Regions from separate parts of the Homo sapiens genome. Here all the other regions are linked to region 4. Evidence: promoter capture Hi-C in 16 types of primary human blood cells and fetal thymus (Javierre and others, 2016). All regions are on one chromosome and are shown on one strand. Each heading gives the region's core, a stretch centred on a gene start or on the middle of the fragment in contact. The rest is flanking DNA. Distances are from core to core; before and after follow the strand shown. Region 1 overlaps TMEM164 (transmembrane protein 164). Region 2 overlaps GUCY2F (guanylate cyclase 2F, retinal). Region 3 overlaps TMEM164 (transmembrane protein 164). Region 4 holds the start of ACSL4 (acyl-CoA synthetase long chain family member 4). Region 5 has its middle 5.2 kb from the start of TMEM164.

Region 1 (2,700 bases), core at 135-2,634, 300 kb after region 4:
GTTTCCTGTGTTATTTAAAACTTGTTGGCATAACTCTTAATGCCTATGTGGTACTCCATCCTGTATGTAACTGGATCATAATTTACCTAGCCATTTCCTTTTTTTTTTTTTAGGGGGGATGGATTCTTGCTCTGTCACCCAGGCTGGAGTGCAGTGGCACGATCTCAGCTCACTGCAACCTCTGCTTCCCAGGTTCAAGCAATTCTTGTGCCTCAGCCTCCCAAGTAGCTGGGACTACAGGCTACCATCACCGCGGCCAGCTAATTTTTGTATTTTTTAGTAGAGATGGGGTTTTACCATGTTGTCCAGGCTGGTCTCGAACTCCTGATCTCAAGTGATCCGCCCACTTCGGCCTCCCAATGTGCTCCTATTTTTTTTTTTTTGCAGTTATAAACTTTAAAAAGTTTACTCTTGTACAAATCTTTGTGTTTCACATTATTTTGTAGGTCACTTTCCTTGAAGTGGAGTTACCAGGACAGGGGTATGGATGTTTTTAAGGAGCTTAATATCTCTTTTTTTGTTGTTTTTTTTTAAAAAAGGTAGTGCTTATGTACATTCCTACTAGCAGTGGGGACAGAGAGAGCCTCTTCCAACTCATCCTCACCAACATCAGATATTGTCACTAAAGCAAAATCTTTTTTTTAAAGCAAATTTTAAAAAAATGGCATCTAAGTTAATGTGTAATTCTTTGTTAAGGTGATTGGAGAAAAAGTTTCAAATGATTGTTGAATGATGAATGGGATCACATAGTTCTTCTTTGGCTCAGTTTTTCATAAATGTACCTTGGGCCCTAACTTGCTTCTCCTTTTCCTCATGCAGTTACCCCCTTTCATCTTTCTGGCTCCTTCTGTTAAAATTCTACTTATTCTTTAGGGCTCAATCCTATCTGTATTCATGTACCTGTCTGTGGAGTCCTCCCTAGTTCCTCCTACTCGATATGATCTCTTGCCTTTGAATCCCTGTAGCACTGTGTACCTCTCTTGTGGTATTTATGTCTTTCTGCCCCTTTTTTTGGTTATCTCTGTACTGGCTTTATGCCTATGGCATGGACACTGGGTAATGTTATCTTTGCATTGACTCCCAGAGCCTAGTAGAGAGCTTAGTGTACAATGGGCTGATTAGCCTATCAGAGCTATGTTGAAAGGTGCCTAAGGTCTGCTGCAGATGACCTTTCAAAATATTCGATGTTGCAATTACCTGTGATGTTTACAGAACGGATTGGGATCACTGATAAGAGATGCTTTGCTGGTTACTTAAGATGGGCTGTATCTATAAGTCCTAGTCACTCTTTTTTGTGAAATTTGAATCATCAAATTTTCCAAGTAGTGATAAAAAACAATTTTAGCATATGTTAGGCTATTCTCTTGTGTATCTGGTAGAAGTTTATGTGATGATGGAAATGTTTTATATCTGCACTGTCTGATATGGTAGTCAGTGGCCACATGTGGCTATTGTGCACTGTATATGTGGTTACTGCAAATGAGGAACTGATTTTTTTTTTCATTTTACTAATTTTAAATACTTTAAATAGCCACATGTAGCTAGTGGTAACCATATGGGACAGTGCAGGATAATGTAGAATATTTAAAGTTATGGTCTCTTTTTTATGGCCAAAAGAAGCTGGGTATGTATAGTGACCCACAGTAACATTGACATTGTAGTTTTCTGGAATTTTGGAGAGGCAGTCTAGACCCTGGTAGAGCCGTAGAGAGAGAGAGAGAGAGGGGAAGCCATAAGTTTGGTTCAAAATGGAAACTGATTCCAGCGGGAGGTGTATGTTGTGAGAAAAGGGAGATGATGCCAGATTGGTAGGATAAAGGCAGAGTACAATAAGCTGGAATACCTAGAGGAGACATATGGACATGATACGATTGGTGATAGGGAACCATTAAAGATTCATGAAAAGAGGAGTGATAGATGAGTGTGGTGTTGCAAGGTCACCTTTGCCAGGCGTATGAAGCTGCTGGGAAAGGATGTGAGTTATTGGCCCCTCCTTCAGTGGATAGGGTTGGGCAGTAGTGATTCACAAACTCCATCAAAACCCAGCCACATCAGAAAACACAAATGATTTATTTTTGCATTAGCTTCCAGTTATTGTGTGCCTTCCTGTGGTTCAGATATACACCACCATATATTGTGGAGGGCTTGTAGCTGGGGGGCTGTGGAGAATGGCCGCCTATGTGACAGGAGGCAGGCCAGTCACCTCTGCTTAGCCACAGGCAAAATTGCCATCTGTGACCCTGGTACCTTGAAAGGTGTGTCTTGAATGGCTCTTTGACTCTTCAGAAACAATCTGGGAGCCCATTCATTCTGTTCTCACTTGCCTGCTTCCTTTAAGGGCCGATAGCAAATTTCTAATTTTACTGTTAGGAGAATATTTTCAATCTCATTTTTTAACCTTTAAATTAAGTTGAACCTTTCAATTAAGTTGAATTAATATTTCTTCCCACTACCTACTCCTTACTGCCCTCACTCCGTCCTTTATTAGATTGCTTATATTTCCATAACTGCATCGTGACCTTAGCACATGGACTTAATCATTAACTATCGTATTCCTAAAGAACAGCCTTTGGACTCATTTTTTTTTTTTTTTTTTTTTTTTGAGACGGAGTCTCGCTCTGTCGCCCAGGCTGGAGTGCAGTGGCAGGATCTCGGCTCACTGCAAGCTCCGCCTCCCGGGTTCACGCCATTCTCCTGCCT
Region 2 (2,700 bases), core at 192-2,691, 260 kb before region 4:
TATATTAGCCTGTTTCTGGCATGGCTCCTCCTGCAAATGATTTTATGTCTTTCAAAATAATTCTATGCTCTGCTTTGAAAGTATCAAGCTCTATTATGAAGTAATCAGAGCCATACTGATTGCTAAACATCACGGAATCTTGTCAACTGGAGCTGGAGGCAGATTACTGTAGTTCTGGAACTAAAAACTCCTCTTGCCCTCATCCTCTTGTGATCATCATAATTAAGGTCCAATACTGAAGCCACTTGAAACTTAAAACAGGCTTCTGATTATAGGCCAGGCCTAAGCTGGACCATTCTCTAACAAACATTTCCTTAACAATGGTTAAGGAAATGACTGGGACCAGGACTAATCCTTGAAGGAATCAGTTTGTCAAATAGTTTCTGAGATATCCATCCTAAAGTGGTGGAGTGGCTGCAGTGGGGGAATGAGCAGCGTTCCCATGAATCATAGCCATCTCCAGAGGAAGGTAAAATGGAGGTTAAAAAATTGGAATAGAAAAAATCAAAACTAGGTGTCACAAGGGCTTGCCATAAGTGTGAGTAAAAGAGATCTGATTCAAGAGGACCAGAAAGGGCCCCCTTTTGCCAAAATGCACCCAACTAACTTTGAGAATGATAGCTTTAGTGGGTCAAGTCCTTTGCTTCACATTTTGTCTATCGTCTCTGCAAGAATCGTCTTTGAACATTAAGCTTCCATTGGAAGGGGAAACTTAAAATTTAGACAGTCTTTTCATTTTAATATGCTTTCATTCATCAGCTAGGTGCCCCCCATATCAACTAACTGTGTGCTGCAAAAAGAAAAGCCCTGCTTTGAGAAAAGGCAGAAGGTATGGACATTTCGGAGTCCACAGAAGACAGATTCTAAGTAAGTGTCCCACAAGGACACTGGGTACCGTTGAAGGAAAGTATCCAGAAGGGAGTCAAAAGTAAATCTCTCCTCAGTGACTAGAACAAACAAAAATGAAGCCATAAGAAGACCCGCGCCTCCCCATACCATTTTGGCACTTTCGAAGCTACCAAGGTCCTAAGGGCAGAAAGAAAGGATGTATGGCTACAGTGCTCTTGACACCATTCTTCACTCAGGCGCTAAGAGCAGGCACTAGCATTCACAGGCATATGAAGCACAGAGTTCTTTGTACTGTTATTCAGTTCATAAAATAGGCTCTGTTGAAGCAGGGCAGTCTTGGGACCTGTGTGTGAGTGAAAAAGGGCAAATGTGTAAAGAAATGGGAAGGGATGTGCTACCCTAGGGTGTGAGGGTAGGAAACCTTTTGGAGATTGTAATCTCTTTCCCTGAAGTCACGTTTAAATTTCAGCGGGAGAAAGCACTCACTGCGAATTCTGTCTGCCTGGTGAATCCTCTGGAGGGCTTTCCGCATGCTTTGGCTGTCTTGTCCTGTGGTCAGGACGACCCCTACAGGTAAGCCGTGGCTCCGAAGAGCACTTGCGACTCGATTGGCTGTATGCACCCAAATGTCTTCATCTGAGGAAATGACTCCAGCATGAGCCCACTGGAAATATTTCATGACAGTTACAAGCACCCGGATGGGAGAAGGGAGTGTCCGAGAAAAGGTCGGGTAGCTAATTTTATTGTCTAATTCATAATTCACACAAGCCCAAGAGAAAATTCCTTTGTCCCAGCTGTTTCCCAGGAGCGAGGCTGCCTCGCAGTAGCCAGGGTTGGTAGGTCCAATAAATCCTGAGGCCATCTGGTGGTGGGAAATGAAACTGGAGAGAGCCCTCGAAGTCTGGCAGTCTTCATTGAGAATCACGTATTCAAAAGAATAACTCAGGTCAAAAGATGGGTCCCGGTTGATTCGCTCAATGGCTAATCGCGCAGCAACCTCAGGCAGGGCCTTTGAAAACAGCGAATCACAAGCCCAAGGGCCCACCACCCCTATCTTGTAGGGGAGTGTCCACACCTGCTGCGGAAGGGACATGACAGACAGAAGGCACAAGCACCACAGGAACTTGGCAGATGCAAGGCCATGGTGTCCCAGCAGTTTCCTGAAAGCCGCAAACCAGAGAACAAGGCGAGAAAAGCGCCCGAGTCCCAGGAACATAGCCCTCCTGCTTCCAGCAAGCTAATGACGAGATACTGGAGAGTTATTCTGCTTTCCCGACACAGACGGTGGTGTTTCCAAATGCCTGTCAATCAGAGGAAAAGGTTTGTTACTCACATTATTTCTGAAGCTTCTGGAAATCATCGGTTGTGAAAGAATGGCAAAAAAAAAAAAAAAATGGCAGTGCCCAAACTAAAAGTTTCTTTCCCCCATCCTGACAAAACTCCTCCTCTTCCTGTACCCCGTATCTCAGTACATGGCACATCCATCCACTGTTTGCCCACTTGCTTCTTTCAGAAAACTGGAAATCACTGAGACTCCTTCTCTTCCCCCACATTCAATCTATCACCAATTCCTATTTATTCAACTTCAGTAATAGCTGCCCACCTTACAGTGTTTTGAAAATTACATGAGTTAACACACGGCAAGTGCTTATAACAGAGCCTGGCAAGTCATTGGCATTATATTAGACATAGTATCATTATTATAGTTTTCAATATGTCCATTTTTCTCTCCCATACAGCTCTCTTGGAGAGAAATAGATGTAAACAGATAATAACAATGCAGAGTAAAAAGTGCTATGATTGAGGTAGCCCAAACAGAGAGACAGAGAGGATCACCTAAACCCAGATTTC
Region 3 (2,700 bases), core at 171-2,670, 280 kb after region 4:
TTTGGCGAAAACAGTGCAAGCTCTGCCCTGTGGCCATGTGTTTAGGTGGGTAGGAGAGGGAGGAGTGAGATCATCTGGAGGGGAAAGGAAGCATGGTACCATCCTAATTCTAGCCCAGTGCCTTCAGTCTCCTCATGTCCATCACATGCCAGTATTGGTATAAAGTCAGGGTGTATTTTGCCTGTGAATTGAATTGTCTTTGCCAATCGACCAGCTGTGTTTGCAGAAAGACTCTGACTGACTGTGTTCTGGCTGTTGCTAGCAAAGAGACATTTCATTCAGGTGCTGATTAAATAAGGTGCAGAGCCAGATTGCACATTAAGGCCCTTAACTATGGCTCTGGGAGTCCTGGGTAAACACTTATTAGATGTTCTGGGCAGAGCACAAAAAGGCTGGTAGTCAGGTGTTCTCTTCAGAAATCAGGTTGAAGGAAAATGGGGTAAAGAGAGACTTCTATAAAGAGTTTTGATCTTCTTTTCTTAACATTAATCAGATCTGAGTGGCTGGTGTGTACACATCAGGGCCAGATAAGTTTCCTCATTGGCATTTACTTGCCAAATTCTTGCTGGGACATTGTAGGCTTGGACTGGGATACAGCGGGGATCCTGACTTAAGTAGGGCAGTAGGAATGCTTCATTTTCCTAATGCAAGTTCAGCTTGGTGGATAGAGCCTTTGGACCATATTTCCTGGGTTTGGGTTTGAGCTCCATCACCATGTAACCTTAGGCATGTTACTTAGCTGCATCTGTAAAATGGGAATAATAATAGGGTTGTTGTGAGGGTTAAATAAAATAATTTAAATCAAGTATTTAGCAGAATTTCTGGCTTATTGTGTGCACTAAATAAATGTTAGCAGTTTTTAATAGTAATAGTATTACTTAACATTTCAAGATCATAGTGGTGTATTGGGTAAGAGTACAGGCTCTAGGGTGGTAAAAGCCTAGATTCAAATTCTACCACTAGCTCTGTAACCGTGGGCAAATTACTTAACCTCTCTGAGCCTGTGTTCCCACATTCATAAAATGATATGATCAAACTTGAACATTACCAGAGTTGTTGTGAGGATTAAGTGAGAAAAATGAGAAAATATTAATAAAGCATTTAAGATAGTATCTGGCACATAAGACACATTCAATACATTTAAATGATGATGATGATGATGACGATGATGTCGGCAACTAAGATGGTGAGGGTGATGATGACAGTCATCATCATTCTCACTATGGCTGCTGCTTCGAGCCTGGGTGCCTGTTGTTGCAATAAGATGGTAGGGATTTGATACAGGAAAGCTTTTCCAAGAAAATCTTCCCTGGCATCATAATTTCATGCAGTGGGCAAAGGTATTGGTTCCATGAAGTTAGCACCCATGTAATAATTTCTGCGGGACAGGGTTGTTTGGCTGTTTGAGGCTTAAGGACGTGTTTGTGGGTAATGTGAAGGTACTTTAAATTATCCAGTCCTTTCTGGGTGACTGGGTGATTCTGTTTAAAATGGCAACTCTTCTTACATCTCTAAGATTTAAAGAATTTAGAAGGTGGCTCTCATTGTTAGGAAGCTTAGCTTTCCGGGGACCTATTGGCTTAATTATTATTGCTCTTTATCAATGGGCTGGCTCCATGGTGCAAACTCTCTTGAGATTGGTAGTCTAGGAAACCAGTGAGTTTGTGACAGAAGTATGAAAGGAGTGAGCTTGGGGGAATGGGGTGGGCATAGACTGGTGAATGGGTTTTTTTTTTTGGTTGTTTCTTTTTTTTTTTTTTTTTTTTTTTACTTTTTCATTTATTTCTTTTGATTAAGGGGAGTGCAACTTTCTCCAGTGCCAACTATTACCAGAGCTGGGTAACTGTTGGAAGAGAAAGGGCCACCCCCAGAGCTCCTGGGTGAAAGGCAGGTTCAAGTGAACAAGTATCTTAGCTGAAGGAGAAGCACAGTATAGTGGAAACTGTGCTGCTTTCAGGAGAAGACTTCACTGTGCCTTGGCTTTTTGCATCAGCAAATGGACAGAAAAAAACCAATTATTCTTACATCTCCGGGATATGGTAATCCTCTCTCCTTAAGACCAGCTCTCCTCCTTTTCAAGACTTTGCTCTGGGGCCTCGTTTTCAAGACTGAGGTCTGGGGCCTAAGCCACCAATCACTAGAGAAGGATCCCCTTAAGAGCAGCCTTCTGGGGCCTAGACCTTGATCATGTGATTTCAGGCCTTGGGATGTGGGGGGTGTGCTGTATCCTGCCAAGGCCATTGGAAGGCCTCTGGGCATATTCCCAAGCATTGTGGGTAAGAAGGCTGTTTCTTAGTCTTGGAGGTGGGAGAATTGAGAAAGCTAAGGTCATGTTTTCTATAACCTGGTTCCTGGAAGAGGAGCTGGTTTAGAGGGCATTTCTAAACAAACAGCAACCCAAATAAACAGCAGCGCTTGGAAATTAGTTATGAAAGTTCACACATTCTAAGACCTAGGGAAGATTGTAACAAAGGGTCCTCTTCATATCAGCACTTGTTCATTGTTGGTTTGCATTTGTTAAGAGTTTCCTTTTTTAAGTTCCAGGAACTTGAGTGTGTGTGTGTGTGTGTGTGTGTGTGTGTGCGCGCCTGTCACTTTATTCTCTGCACCCTGCAGGAATGTTGCTCAGAGTCATGTGCACAAGTGCCTCATTATCAGCAGCGCTTTCACACTTGGTCCCTTGGGCTGCCACTGCTACTG
Region 4 (2,721 bases), core at 128-2,627:
AGTACCATCATTGAATCTCCACCTGCTGCCTTACGTATCAAGAACATTTAAAAGTCTTTCTTGTTAGAGACAAAATAAAAGAAAAACTAAGGTGACAAGCGACTATGAGAAATAAGGCTTTAATCAGGTTAAATTTGCATTATGCAGCCTGCATGAATTTAGAGGTCCTAGAATCAAAACACTAGAAGGAACCTTTGATATGCTCTAGTTCAACAGACTGATTTTTGCAGAAGAGGAAACTGAAGCGCTGATGAGACCATTAACTGATAAAGCAAACCGCTTACTTTTTCAAAGGGATTCATTTCAATGCCATTTTACCCTTATTTTGCATCTCACTGTTGTTTCTCAGAGCGACGATTGACCTTTTTTTAGGTGAAAAGAGCGAATAGAGCGTATTAATTTCAAGAGGGTGAAAAATGCCTTTGAAGGAGGAGATGCTGGAGTGAAGAGGAGAAATGACGTCTTATTTAAAATATGTAACCCCTTGATGGGGTTAGACAATGAATCATATTCTCCTAGATTTTTCTATGTCTATAGACATCAGCCACAGTTCTTTCAGGCACTCAAACGAGAGGAAGAGGAAGTGAATAAAGCTCATACTAAATATATAGCACCCACTGAAGGCAGGGATGTAGACAGAAAGAACGGGGGTGGGGGAAGGAAGGAAAGCACGCTTCGCCAGGATCCAGCTGTTTTCTAACAAACCTAAGCCTACGGAAGCTAGGAAGATATCGGAAGCAAGGAAGATATCGGAAGCGACGGCATCCCTCAAATTCGAGAGGGCGGATGCCTCTAGGGCTAGAGAGGCTCCCTAGCCCTCAGTTACAGAGCGACTGGGAGGGGACAAAATGGAGTTGAGGTTTAGGGGCACCCTAAAGGTCGTTTGGAGGTCTAGCAAGCACTTCATGGTCTCCTCCGGAAAGGGCCGTGGCAAAGCCTAGTACCCCGATCAGGAAGATGACTTCTGGCCCTCGGGATGCGGTGAGCGGCAGGAAGAGGCAGGCTGGGGTTCCGAGGACCCCAGAGTCCATCACAGGAGCAGATACAGTGACCTCGGGAATCTTCCCGGCCCCAGCGGAGGCGAGCGGATAGATAGCCCTGGCTCAAGGAAAAAAGCGAGCCGACTCCAGGAGCTGGAATGCCCACCCAACCTCCTCCCGGCTCAGGTGAGGTACGCCAGTCCCCCTCTGGAAATGGGGCCCTGGTACCGACAGGGCAGGGGTGCCGGGGCCGCAACCTCCCCATCCAGGGATACTCACCGGAGGGGCGGCCCACCGCGTCTTCGCAGCCGGCCGGCGCCTGGCACTCGGAAAGCTCGCAAAAAGGAACCGCGTGCCCGCTAGCGCTGGGACGAGGAGGAGCGCGCGGCGGAGGCCAGAGAAAAAGCCGCAGCGGCGCGCGCGCACCCGGACAGCCGGCGGAGGCGGGACTCAGCGCGAGCCCGGAAAAGACGCGCCCGGAGGGGCGGGCGGAGCGGGGGCGCGCGGTGGTGTGGCAGAGCCAGCCGAATCGCTGGCTGCAGACGGCTCGGCCCACCCACGCGCCCGCCCCCGCTCGCCCGGGACGTCAGTCGAAAAGGCGGAGCCGAACGGGCTTCCCGGGGCGCGGGAGGGGCGCTGCGAGGAAGGCGAGGCGGCTAACGGCTCGCCTCAAGTTGTTGCTCCCGCTGGCGATCCGCTTCTGTCAGTCTCGCTGCTGGTGTCGTTGAGTGTGTTTCGGGATGTCCTTGCGCCTAACAGCAGTGAGGCGCAGAATTGGCCCACGCCCTCACCTGCGGCTTGCTTCGCAGGACTCCACCCCAGGATAAAAGTTCCCCTCGGGTCATCTTCCAGCTGCCCTCAAAAGACACTCATTTTTGGGTTTCACTGCTCCTCTTTAAGAGAGCTATCTTGAACACTTTGACTAAAAGCATCTTGCTCCTGTAAGCCTGAACTAATGCCTCTCATCCGTTTATCTTGCCTCTTACTGCGTTAAGATCCCCGCTCACTCCCACTGATGAAATATCACAAGGACGCAGGATTTTCACGTTGTCTTTCATTTCCACGATGGTATCATGGCAAAAAAACCCCCAACTGATAAGGAAAAGTCACCGCAGCTTTGTGACATCTTACTAGCCCTGATCATTGCTTATAAGCCGGTCATACGAATGCTGTTCCAACAGATGCAAGAAATTGCTATTAAAATTAAAATGCCAGCGAACTATCTGAGGGCTTCAAAAGGGACAGACCATAATTGCAAATGAGGCCTGATAAACTGCCAAGAATATATCACCCAAAAAAATAAATCTCAAGAATTCTTCCAGTTCCCTGATGCGTAATGGTGAACTAGCTTCCTGTTCCTGATGGTAATTGACATTTCACTTCACTTGCTGATTTCCATTTTCCCATAGAATTACCATTTGTGCTTGTGTGTGTGTATATATATATGTATATATAAAATGCCTTACCACCTGAGATTACAAGCTAGAGTAGTTCTTCAGTGTGCATCACAATTATCTGGGGTGCTTGTTGAAATGTAGGTACCTGGAGCTACAACCCCCAGGTATTTTGATTCTGATCTGGGTAGGGATAAGAAATTTGAATTTTTAATAAGCAGCCCAGGTGACACTAAAAGTGGTTAGCTGAGAGCACAGAGCTATAGTTTTTGTGTTACTACTCTAAAGCCATATTACCAATTCAATTTCCAAGAAACCCACCCACTTACATATAATATACCTATAAA
Region 5 (2,700 bases), core at 114-2,613, 260 kb after region 4:
CTTTTTTTTTTTAATTGAGGCATTACTGACATACAGTAAAACGTACAACTCTAAAGTGTGCACGCTATGTAGGTTTACATATGTATACATCCATGTAACGTCACCCAGATCAAGACACAGAGCATTGCTGGCATTCCAGGAGGCTTCCTTCTTTTCCCTTCCCGTCAGTGTCTCTAGGGTATCTGCCATGCTGACCTTTCTCCCCATAGATGGCTTTACTTGGTGTTGAACTATGCCTGAATTCTTCTCACTCTCCTTGTTGGTAAAACTCACTTGACACATACAAGACTTGTTTTTGTGGTAGCAGCTCATATTTTCTTGGCTTGTGTTTATACTTCCCTTATTTATTGTTTTCTAACCTCCCTTGTTTGTGAGTATCTCCCTAGCTGAATTTTAAGCTCCTTGAGAGCAGACATTGCTCACAGGCAATAGAGCATTCCTATGAACATAATAGAGACTCAGAAAGTACTTACGGAATGAATGCTGGTGTCGAATGTTTTGCATGGTGGCAGAAGCAGTAAGCAGACAGTCAAATTAAGACAAAGACTTCTCCATCCTCCGTACATATGCAGTTTATTTTTACTGCTAACACTTCATATAATGTTGGGAGTGTGCATTGTTTTTTGCTTGTGAAAGATCATGTATGCATTCGACTCTCAGGTTCCATTGTGGACAGAGTGGTAGGAGTTGATTCAAAGAATAAAGTGCAGGAGGAGAAAAGGTAAGATGATGAAGTCAAAGGAACGAGCTTGCTCTGGCTCCTACTGTTGAAAGATCACTGGACCGGGAGTTAGAACCTCAAGTTCTAGTCCTCACTCTGCCACTAACTTGTGTGACCTTAGGCAAGTCACTTCACTTGTCTGAACCTCAGTTTGTCTGTGGTACAACAGAGGTAATAATTTCTGACACTTTGCACTCCACAGTAGGTCAGCTGTGTTCATAGCTGGGAGGCACTTTGGCCAAAAGAATTTAGAGCATTGTCTCCCCAGACTCCCCAGATCTCCAAGTCAGGTAGGTAGATTATCTTTCTGCTTTAAGATTCAAACCAGACTGGGATAAAAAGGTGGGAAGGTTGAGTTCGTAGAATCATAGAAGATTAATGCCAGCAGGTATTTTAGAGACCATTCTAGTCCAACCCTCTCATTTTGCTTCTGAGTACACAGAAGCACAGAGAGATTATTTTCCCCAAGGTTTCACTGAACCAAGCCTGGATTCTGGGTTCCGTTTTCACTGTTGTGCTTCAAGGATCTACTTAAAAAGCAAAGTTGATTTGCTCTTGTTACTGGTTGGCGACAAGAAAGCTCTGGCCTGTATCCCAGCAAAGATATGATCAGGACTTTTGCCTGCAGCTTTTGCAGTTCTAAATTCAACATACCATTTCACCTCAATTATTACCTGCCTTTTACTTATGGGGACAACAATCTCCTAGTGCTTATTTAGTGCCTACTAGGAGTTTGCCACTCTGCTAGGTGCTGTGGGTGGGGTTTAGAAAAGATTAAGATCCATTCCCAGCTCTCAAAGAGCCTGGTGTGGGAGACAAGAGTCACAATGAGAGAACAATGGAAGGCAGTATGTGATTCAGAATAAAATGAGTAGTGCAGGCAATAAATGCTGTACAAGTTCAGAGGAGGAAGAGAGCTCCAGGAGCTGAGGGAGGGGGATTGGGGGGAGTGAAATTTTACGTGGGCTTTGAAGGATGGTAGGATTGTTTATGCAAATGTGGGGGAGGGCGCTGAATTTGAGGTTGTGTGTGCGTGCACGTGCTTGGGTGTGTGTACACATGCAAATGCAGGGATGGGTAATAATAGGGAGCACTTAGTGAACACTCTCTATGCACCAGACACCACCTTATGGTCCCCAACATTCAGCTCATTTGACTGTGCATAACCTCATCAATTTGATAATAGTATCTTTCAATTAATAGATGAGGCAATTGAGGCACAGGGAGGTTGAGAGTAAATTGTCCAAGGTGACACAGCAAGTAAATAATATAAATGGGGTTAGATTCGAATCCATATCCTAAAAACACTTTGTTATTCTACTTGTAAACCCAGAATAAAATTTTAAGCCCCCTAAATGACTGAACAGACACACCCCCCAACACACACCCCCTACCTTGGCTAAGAGGACCTGGAAAGAAAACTTGAAAAACTAGCTCAGGCTGGCCAGATGCGGTGGCTCATGCCTATAATCCCAGCAGTTTGGGAGGCTGAGGAGGGCAGATTACCTGAGGTCAGGAGTTCAAGACCAGCCTGGCCAAAATGGTGGAACCCAGTCTCTACTAAAAATACAAAAATTAGCAAGGCATGGTGGCACATGCCAGTAGTCCCACCTACTCGGGAGGCTGAGGCAGGAGAATCACTTGAACCTCGGAGGCGGAGGTTGCAGTAAGCCGAGATTGCACCACTGCACTCCTGTCTAGGGGATAGAGTGAGACTCTGTCTCATGGAGGTTGGACTTTTTTTTTTTTTTTTTTTTTTGCTTAATGGGTATAGGAATTCTATTTGGGGTGATGAAAACTTTCAGAAATAGAGTAGTGATGGTTGCACATTGTGAATGTGATTAAAGTCATTAAATTGTACAATTAAAAATCGTTAAAACAACTAGGCGCAGTGGTTCACGCTTGTAATCCCAGCACTTTGGGAGGACGAGGTGGGTGGATCACTTCAGGCCAGGAGTTGGAGATCAGCCTGGCCAACA

Evidence for each region. Contacts are between HindIII fragments. The CHiCAGO score rates a contact against its expected background, and 5 or more counts as called.
Region 1: a fragment that was not itself captured here is called in contact with the fragment with the promoter of ACSL4 in region 4 in 1 of 17 cell types (neutrophils); the score reaches 11.1 in neutrophils.
Region 2: a contact is called between a fragment that was not itself captured here and the fragment with the promoter of ACSL4 in region 4, in 1 of 17 cell types (neutrophils). The highest score is 5.8, in neutrophils.
Region 3: a contact is called between a fragment that was not itself captured here and the fragment with the promoter of ACSL4 in region 4, in 3 of 17 cell types (total B cells, neutrophils and naive B cells). The highest score is 6.7, in total B cells.
Region 5: a contact is called between a fragment that was not itself captured here and the fragment with the promoter of ACSL4 in region 4, in 9 of 17 cell types (neutrophils, non-activated CD4 T cells, total B cells and 6 more). The highest score is 15.8, in neutrophils.

The regions. Positions count from the first base shown.
Region 1 is chrX:110,035,407-110,038,106 of GRCh38, forward strand. All of the region lies in intron 2 of TMEM164 (transmembrane protein 164), which reads left to right. Among named protein-coding and RNA genes, the nearest start is that of MIR652, 19 kb to the right of the region's middle. The HindIII fragment of the contact is 5,858 bases long and covers 1-2,700 here.
Region 2 is chrX:109,473,872-109,476,571 of GRCh38, forward strand. GUCY2F (guanylate cyclase 2F, retinal) reads right to left here. Exons shown (of 20, transcript NM_001522.3): 2 at 1,336-2,150. The coding sequence starts at 2,065. Among named protein-coding and RNA genes, the nearest start is that of GUCY2F, 6.9 kb to the right of the region's middle. The HindIII fragment of the contact is 1,503 bases long and covers 691-2,193 here.
Region 3 is chrX:110,012,999-110,015,698 of GRCh38, forward strand. The region is part of intron 2 of TMEM164 (transmembrane protein 164); the gene reads left to right. Among named protein-coding and RNA genes, the nearest start is that of TMEM164, 11 kb to the left of the region's middle. The HindIII fragment of the contact is 266 bases long and covers 1,288-1,553 here.
Region 4 is chrX:109,731,880-109,734,600 of GRCh38, forward strand. It overlaps ACSL4 (acyl-CoA synthetase long chain family member 4), which reads right to left and starts at 1,378. Exons shown (of 16, transcript NM_001318510.2): 1 at 1,260-1,378. LOC105373311 (a long non-coding RNA gene) reads left to right here and starts at 632. Exons shown (of 1, transcript NR_158569.1): 1 at 632-2,721. RefSeq lists enhancers at 741-790, 851-990 and silencers at 1,113-1,233, 1,331-1,640. The HindIII fragment of the contact is 5,191 bases long and covers 1-2,721 here.
Region 5 is chrX:109,996,587-109,999,286 of GRCh38, forward strand. No RefSeq gene overlaps it. Among named protein-coding and RNA genes, the nearest start is that of TMEM164, 5.2 kb to the right of the region's middle. The HindIII fragment of the contact is 4,228 bases long and covers 1-2,700 here.